3 separate regions of the Homo sapiens genome follow, and regions 1 and 2 are each linked to region 3. The links are contacts of gene promoters, found by promoter capture Hi-C in blood cells and fetal thymus (Javierre and others, 2016). All regions are on one chromosome and are shown on one strand. The core of a region is centred on a gene start or on the middle of the fragment in contact, and the rest is flanking DNA. Distances in the headings are between cores, read along the strand shown. Region 1 overlaps ATG3 (autophagy related 3). Region 2 overlaps SLC35A5 (solute carrier family 35 member A5). Region 3 holds the start of SLC9C1 (solute carrier family 9 member C1).

Region 1 (3,189 bases), core at 74-2,573, 260 kb after region 3:
ACCCAGGTGAAATAAACAGCCTTGTTGCTCACACAAAGCCTGTTTGGTGGTCTCTACACATGGACGCATGTGACACCCACATACTTGCCAAATTACTTCTATTTTGCAACAGCTCTAGCTTAAAATCTTGTATTGTTCATGGGTTTACTACACAGCAAAAAATTACAAAATATTTAATCTCTAATACCTTTGAGAAAGTATGCCTATATAAAATACTCTAGTTTAATTTGAGCATATAATTCTATCAAATAAGAATTCTAAGAATAACCTCTTTTAAGATGAAACATTAACAAGATATAGCAACTGGATTCCTGATAGAAACTTTATGTTTCTGTTCTTTTACTTCGAATAACCTTATTATTTAAACAGCCTAAGTAAAGACAAAAACCAAAATAAAAACAATAGTCTCTTCCCCAAATTTTGAGCACTTCGAGCTCATTGCAACCAGATGCTACATTTAGCTCTGTGGTTATCAGGAACTAATTTATTACCATTAAAAGTAATAATTTAACTAAATGAAAGCAAAATAATTAAAAATAAAAAATTCTTTCATTGTATTGCCTTGAGGTAACAAGACTAACATTTTATCTCATAGTCCCTATAGTATCTTCTATTTAAAAACAAGAACACTAGGAGGCAAGAAAAACGAAAAACAAAAAACAAAACAAAAAAAACACAGACTCACACTGATAATACATGTGTACATCTGCCCTCATTAGCAATGGCCATCATAACTTGCTTCACGTGTTCAAATGATGCAAGATTCAAATTTCTAAATGATCAATATTGCTTGCAATAGCTTTCTCTTAGAGACTAAAAATGTTCTCTTATTATCTTTATTATCAGTATATAATACTGACCAACTCCAACAAGAATCAATATTTACACCTTGGTGAGCAATTCCATTCCTCAAGCTAACCTCAATTAATAGTATTCTACTTAAACAAGTCATACATACATCCAACATTAGTTTTTTCTTTGTTTTTTGACAATACAGTATCAGATACTAGCTGCCCCTCTTTTTAAGCACAATACTGCCACACCTCTGAATGAAAACAAAAAGATAGCTGATGTCTGGCAGAAACTCAGAAACAGCAAGATGAAACAAATGAACAAATCAACTCAGTATATAATATTTACACAAAGCAAATGATGCCTTCCCATTTCCTCCTCCAGGCTCATTCTACTCTAACTCAATCCTGTAATTGTGCTCTATCCCAACCCTGCATTATGTAATAGACAGCCAGCTGGGCTAATTTGGCCTTGGATTTTTTTAGAGAGGAAAATTCATAAATTGATTGATGTTGTAATTAAGTGTAACAGTTATTTATTCTAGGATGAATTCCTGTTTTGAAACTGCTTAATTCTATCCAATGACCACAGACTTTGCATCTCTAACTGCAACTATATATTCAACAATTAGTCATCTTCACAGAGGAAATAAAACCAAAGAGTGCAATAAGAACAGCATACTTTCATCTCCGCTCTTGATTTCAGATAAAGAGCCATGTTCAAATTACACCTCTGTTTGGCAAGAATGTTAATGATATCCTTAAAATCAAAACTTAGTTTTATTTGGCATTTGAGGTAATAAAACCTAAGGCAGAATAGGATCTTTACAGAATGTCTAGCCCACAACCGTTATTTTATAGATGAGGAAACATGAAGCCTCGGCAGGGATAGTTTAACTGATTTCCTCATTAGGAGAAATTACCGTCCCGTCCGGGAGGTGAGGGGCGCCTCTGCCTGGCCGCCCCTACTGGGAAGTGAGGAGCCCCTCTGCCCGGCCGCCCCTACTGGGAAGAGAGGAGCCCCTCTGCCCGGCCAGCCGCCCCATCCGGGAGGGAGGTGGGGGGGTCAGCCCCCCGCCCGGCCAGCCGCCCCGTCCGGGAGGTGAGGGGCACCTCTGCCCGGCCGCCCCTACTGGGAAGTGAGGAGCCCCTCTGCCCGGCCACCACCCCGTCTGGGAGGTGTACTCAACAGCTCATTGAGAACGGGCCATGATGACAATGGCGGTTTTGTGGAATAGAAAGGGGGGAAAGGTGGGGAAAAGATTGAGAAATCGGATGGTTGCCATGTCTGTGTAGAAAGAGGTAGACATTGTAGACTTTTCATTTTGTTCTGTACTAAGAAAAATTCTTCTGCCTTGGGATCCTGTTGATCTGTGACCTTACCCCCAACCCTGTGCTCTCTGAAACATGTGCTGTGTCCACTCAGGGTTGAATGGATTAAGGGTGGTGCAAGATGTGCTTTGTTAAACAGATGCTTGAAGGCAGCATGCTCGTTAAGAGTCATCACCACTCCCTAACCTCAAGTACCCAGGGACACAAACACTGCGGAAGGCCACAGGGTCCTCTGCCTAGGAAAACCAGAGACCTTTGTTCACTTATCTGCTGACCTTCCCTCCACTATTGTCCTGTGACCCTGCCAAATCCCCCTCTGCGAGAAACACCCAAGAATGATCAATTAAAAAAAAAAAAGAAATTACAGAAATAGGTCTAGAAGGCAGGTCTCCTAGGTTATTTCCATACTACCATGTGTCTTCACCAAAAACAAAAGACAATTTTAGAGAAAAGATTAGTTATGCAAACCATTTTTTTTTTTCAGACGGAGTCTCGTTCTGTCGCCCAGGCTGGACTACAGGCGCCCACCATCACGCCCCGCTAATTTTTTATATTTTTAGTAGAGACGGGGTTTCGCCCTGTTAGCCTGTATTCCGCCTGCCTCTGCCTCCTAAAGTGTTGGGATTACAGGCGTGAGCCACCACGCCCAGCACAGAAACCATTCTTAAAACTCACAAGGAGCCGGGCGCAGTGGCTCAAGCCTGTAATCCCGAGGCAGGCGGATCACGAGGTCAAGAGGTCGAGACCATTCTGGCCAACATGGTGAAACCCCATCTCTACTAAAAGTACAAAACTTAGCTGGGCGTGGTGGCGCTCACCTGTATTCCCAGCTACTTGGGAGGCTGAGGCAGGAGAATTGCTTGAACCCAGGAGGCAGAGGCTGCAGTGAGCCAAGATCGCGCCACTGTGCTCCAGCCTGGTGACAGAGGGAGACTCCGTCTCAAGAAAAAAAAATTAAAAAAACCACAAAGATTTGGAACTAGACAAATTCCATCACAACTGAAAATTGAAAGATCAGTTAATTCTCTAGCTCCACACCTTGGACCTTAACAGCAGCAGCCTTATC
Region 2 (2,814 bases), core at 58-2,557, 290 kb after region 3:
TTCAAGCTGTGACTATTGTATATCTTTCCAAGAGTTGAAATGCTGGCTTCAGAATCATACCAGATTGTCAGTGAAGCTGATGCCTAGGAACTTTTAAAGGGATCCTTTCAAAAGGATCACTTAGCAAACACATGTTGACTTTTAACTGATGTATGAATATTAATACTCTAAAAATAGAAAGACCAGTAATATATAAGTCACTTTACAGTGCTACTTCACACTTAAAAGTGCATGGTATTTTTCATGGTATTTTGCATGCAGCCAGTTAACTCTCGTAGATAGAGAAGTCAGGTGATAGATGATATTAAAAATTAGCAAACAAAAGTGACTTGCTCAGGGTCATGCAGCTGGGTGATGATAGAAGAGTGGGCTTTAACTGGCAGGCCTGTATGTTTACAGACTACCATACTGTAAATATGAGCTTTATGGTGTCATTCTCAGAAACTTACACATTTCTGCTCTCCTTTCTCCTAAGTTTCATGCAGATGAATATAAGGTAATATACTATTATATAATTCATTTGTGATATCCACAATAATATGACTGGCAAGAATTGGTGGAAATTTGTAATTAAAATAATTATTAAACCTATGTCTTGTGTTGCCACTCTGTCATTTAGGGTGGGATGTAGAGTACTTTTAATCTTAAAAAATAGAGTGAGACAAAAACCTACACAACTTTTAAAACTTTCTCTTTAAGTAGATCTTTACTTCTAACAATAACAAAGGCATTTTCATCAGTTATGTGAAATACGAAGATTATATCTATTATGGCGATTTATTTTAAAGGTAAGGGAAATGAGGTACAGCAGGACCTTTCTAGGAAATGTGGCATACAAAACATTTTTATCTCATAAAACATAAAAATTACAAAAATATTCTTACAAAGGTATCACATACAGAATACATTAAATAGCAGATTTCAGTAGTGCATGGAGATTGATTTTCTTATTTACGATTACTTTTTTTCCTCACCTTCCTCTTTGGAAAGCATTTTTTGCACAAAGTTAAGTTTACTTATGTTAACTTGCCACTTAATGAGAGAGGAAGAGAAAGAGTGAGAGCACAAGATCATGTGCTGGAACTAAAAATGTTCTATTCAACCCAGCAATCCCTCTACTGGGTACCTACCCAAAGGAAAATAAATCGTTTTATCAAAAAGACACTTGCAGTGGTATGTTTATCACAGCAGTATTCACAGTAACAAAATCATGGACTCAACCTAAGTGTCCATCAGTGGTGCCTGGAATAAGAAAATGTGGTACATATACACCATGGAATACTTTGCAGCCATAAAAAATAATGAAACCATGTGCTTTAAAGCCACATGGATGCAGCTGGAAGCCATTATCCTAACTGAAATAATTCAGAAACAGAAAATCAAATACCACATGTTCTCACTTATAAGTGGGAGCTAAACAGTGGGTACATGTGGACACAGGATTCCAAAGTGAGAAGGGTGGTGTATTAGTCCATTCTCATGCTGCTACAAAGAAATACCCGAGACTGGGTAATCTATAAAGAAAAGGGGTTTAAATGACTCGCAGTTCTGCATGGCTGGGGAGGAGGCCTCAGGAAACTCACAAGCATGGCTGAAGGCGAAACAGAAGCAAGCACCTTCTTCACAAGGCAGCAGGAGAGAGAGTGCCAACAGGGGAAATGGCAGATGCTTATAAAACCATCAGATCTCATGAGAACTTACTATCATGAGAACAGCATGGGGGAAACTGCCCCCATGATTCAATTACCCCCACCTGGTTCCTTCCTCAACACCTGGGGATTATGGGGATTACAATTCAAGATGAGATTTGGGCGGGGACAGAAAGCCTAATCATATCAGATGGGAAGGACATGAGGGTTGACAAAATATGTATTGGGTACAATGTTCACTGTTTGAGTGATGGGTCCACTAGAAGCCCAAACTTCACCATTATGCAATGTACCATATATACGCAATGTAACAAACCTGTACATGTACCCCTTCAATCTGAAATAAAAGTTGTTTTTTTTTTTAAGATGCGAAGTTCTGATATGTATCCACTGGAGGTCTTATGGGCACCACTGGTTTAAGAAGGTCAGAAGTCTGGAAACCATATCCTACATGCCCCTGAAATGAGGATAGTATAACCTGGAGAGGAGCAATTGTCATGTGAAAAAGGAAGTAGACATTTTTCTGCTCTGGAGAATCAAACTACAGTAAGATTTATATGGTAGTGATTATTATTTTATTATAATGAGGACTTTGCCAAAATAGGTTACTTTTCAACAGTTAAAAGAACCTTCCTGAAGAGTAATAGAGAATAGTAGTAAATTATCACTGAAGTTTTTAGGAAGAGATTGTGTCATCAGGATGTTTTAGAAGAGATTCCTTCATGAGTGTAGAAGTTGGACTGATTTCTAAAGTCCCTTTCTATTTTTAGATTCTCTTCTGCACAGTTATGACCTACACATAATGCACTGAATCTGTTCCCTTGATAGTTTCTGCATAGGCTTTGGTTGTGCCACAAGTGTGGCCTGCAGTGAATGACCTGGTCTAACTCTGTCATTGGTCCTAGGACTGAACTGTCCAGGAATATGCCTAATCCTGAGGGAAAGCATCAATATGGCTGTTGGTTATAGAGAGAAAGATGGCTTAGACTCAAGATCTCAAATCCTTGTCCAGCTGCATCTTGCTGCCGTGGGTTTTCAAGATCCACATACAGAGGGGATAACTTGACAAATTACTCTATAACTCTAAGGCTTTTTTTGCTTCTGAAGTCCCATGTGGAAGCCTTGTCACTTGTAAGCTGGACTAGACTGGGTAGATCTGCAGAGA
Region 3 (2,888 bases), core at 198-2,697:
TCCTGACCTTGTGATCTGCCCGCCTCGGCCTCCCAAAGTGCTGGGATTACAGGCGTGAGCCACCACGCCCGGCCACAGGTTTTCAATATAATTAGAACTCTTCATCTTAAGCTGACTTTTGACAGCTTTGTAAAAGTCTGTGAGTCCAAATCCCATTAAAGAAAAAAATATTGGTTTATCACATAGGTCCTCTGCATTAATTTAACAATAAGTTAGTTGACTGAGCACAGTGGCTCACGCCTGTAATCCCAGCACTTTGGGAGGCCTAGGCGGGTGGATCACTTGAGATCAGGAGTTCGAGACTAGCCTGGCCAAAATAGTGAAACTGTCTCTACTAAAAATACAAAAAAAAAAAAAAAAAAATTAGCCAGGTGTGGTGGCACATGCCTGTAATCCCAACTACTTGGGAGGCTGAGACAGGAGAATCAATTGAAGAGGCAGAGATTGCAGTGAGCCTAGATTGTGCCACTGCACTCCAGCTTGGGTGACAGAGTGAGACTCTATTTCAAATATATATATATATATATATCTCTCATGTTAGCTAATATCTCAATTCTCTTTGTGTGTGGAGGAAATTAATGACTGCCCTCTCAAAAATGACATGAATTTGTCCTTGTCAGTCAGCCAGCATTGAGAAATTTTGTCTCATGAACCGTAAGTCACACTAATTTACCATGTTACTGAACATGGAAACAGTCTTCTTCCTTCAGATTGGAACGTTTTGCAAGAATTAGGTGAAGAAAGCATCCTGAAGAGGGCACTGTGGGATCTCAGTAATCTTCACAGCTACAAAGCTCATGCTTAATGGTTTATTTTATATTGATACCAGAGGCTGGATTGTCTCCTTAGTAAACTCTCCTACCACACAACGCAGACATCTTACTGACTCTGAAGGTGGGTGGGCTATTGCCCTCCTAATGCCCCTCCACTCAGAATGAGCCCTTCCTCCAGCTCAAGATCAGCTCCACACACCTGAGGCGATTCCCTGAACCAGTGAGCTTTCCCCTAGGGCTGGACTTTTCAGTTTCAGTAACGCAAAGGGAACACATGCCACTGGATAGTTCACAAAGAGTTGATGTAAAAAGCATAATGGAGGAGGGGAAGCAGCTAAGGGGTAGAAGTTCAAACCGAGAAGCTAGCTGATCTTTGGGAAAGTGTTCCATGGTCTGCCACAAGAAAGGCAGAAGCGCCAAGAGGGAGTGGCTGAATCTCTAGCAGGAAAACAGTGGGAGCCTTTGTTCATCTAGGAGGCGAGACTGAGAGAGAAAGTACCAGTAGGAAAGGTCAACTTCCAGAAAAGGAAACTAGAGACTGGAGAGCTCACCATCCGGAGCCTCAGGAGGAGTATCCCGTGGTGTGCAAGTGAGAAGTGGGGGGCAGCTATTTCGCTCACAGCCAAACAGCCCAGACCAACTGCAACCTCACTGACAGTTACTTGCTCCAAACTCGCCCCTAGTCTGCACCGGTTAGCTTCAGGCCCATCATCTCTTACTTGATTGGCTGATGAAATGCAACGTCATTGCTCCTGTATATCTCAGGCATTTGACGGCTTAAGGCTTTGTTTTATTTTTTAAAAATAAACAAATAAGGGGTGAAAATGAACCTACAGAAATTGCGCCATTGTGTTAATTTAAGACTTTGGGACAGTGGATTTCTGACAAAGAGCTGTTGGACACTGCTTTCCCAGAATTCTAGTAAAAGGAAGTTTCCTGGATAAGATAGTGTGGTAGAGATATGAGGACGCAGGTTGCTGGGTTAGGGAAAAAGTGAATGGATATTGTGGGCATGTAAGAGAATGAAATCAAGATGACAAGGTGAACTTTCACTCTGGGTTATATGTGAGGAAATTTTCAGGAATAATGATATACTCATTTGTTTTTTCTAAACATAATATGTAAAAAATATTTTAATTGAAATTACTTAGTTATTACTATAGAGCCAACTTTTCACATTCCTACTCTCATAAAATATCTTAAAGTTATTTAAAATTGTATTTAATGTTTTGTTCTCTGTGTTTCATCTCTTTCTCCCGACCCACACGTTTATAAGTGAATGGTGGTAAAATTCCCAACTCTTCATTTGGCCTCCTCTGATACTACCCTGATGAAGAAGGCAGGAGGCAACTTGTTTGGCTGGGTTGGAGCAGAAGTCCAGGCTCCCTACATGGTCTCCAACTGAGGCATGGGGTGCATCTTTATGGCCTGGTTGTTATGGAAGTTCCAGCTCCCACAAGGCCTTTTCTGATACTGCTCTGGTTGGGGTGGGGAAACAGGCAGGGTTCTGGCATCTTGTATGGTATGGGTGAAGTTTAAGCTTCCTACTCAGTCTTTGCTGGTATGTGGGTACAGGGAGTGGGTGAACACTTTTCTGTGGTGTTTGGTTAAAGTAGAGCAGTTACTGGTGAAATTTTCTGTCTTGCTGGGCTGCCCCTTTTCTTGGGTCTTTAAAAAATCTATTCTCGGCCAGGTGCAGTGGCTCATGCCTGTAATCCCAGCACTTTGGGAGGCCGAGGCAGGTGGATCACCTGAGGTCAGGAGTTCGAGACCAGCCTGACCAACAAGGTGAAACCCCGTCTCTACTAAAAATACAAAAATTAGCCGGGCATGGTGGCAGGCGCCTATAGTCCTAGCTCCGGGAGGCTAAGAAAGGAGAATCACTTGAACCCGGGAGATGGAGGTTGCAGTGAGCCGAGATTGCGCCACTGCACTCCAGCCTGGGAGACAGGGTGAGACACCGTTTCAAAAAAAAAAAAAAAGGATTCTCATTGTTGGAAATACATGCCACATATCTGTGTGTGGGTTGTGGTTCATGTGTGGATATATATTTAAAAATTAATTAAGTTGCAAAGCTAATATTTGCCACATTATGTATTTGTTTATATACATATG

Evidence for each region. Contacts are between HindIII fragments. The CHiCAGO score rates a contact against its expected background, and 5 or more counts as called.
Region 1: a contact is called between a fragment that was not itself captured here and the fragment with the promoter of SLC9C1 in region 3, in 1 of 17 cell types (erythroblasts). The highest score is 5.8, in erythroblasts.
Region 2: a contact is called between a fragment that was not itself captured here and the fragment with the promoter of SLC9C1 in region 3, in 1 of 17 cell types (activated CD4 T cells). The highest score is 5.0, in activated CD4 T cells.

What each region holds. Positions count from the first base shown.
Region 1 is chr3:112,554,552-112,557,740 of GRCh38, forward strand. All of the region lies in intron 2 of ATG3 (autophagy related 3), which reads right to left. Among named protein-coding and RNA genes, the nearest start is that of ATG3, 5.8 kb to the right of the region's middle. The HindIII fragment of the contact is 3,918 bases long and covers 1-3,189 here.
Region 2 is chr3:112,583,566-112,586,379 of GRCh38, forward strand. SLC35A5 (solute carrier family 35 member A5) reads left to right here. Exons shown (of 7, transcript NM_017945.5): 7 at 1-2,014. Among named protein-coding and RNA genes, the nearest start is that of SLC35A5, 23 kb to the left of the region's middle. The HindIII fragment of the contact is 3,705 bases long and covers 1-2,814 here.
Region 3 is chr3:112,292,769-112,295,656 of GRCh38, forward strand. It overlaps SLC9C1 (solute carrier family 9 member C1), which reads right to left and starts at 1,448. Exons shown (of 29, transcript NM_183061.3): 1 at 1,325-1,448. The HindIII fragment of the contact is 3,564 bases long and covers 1-2,311 here.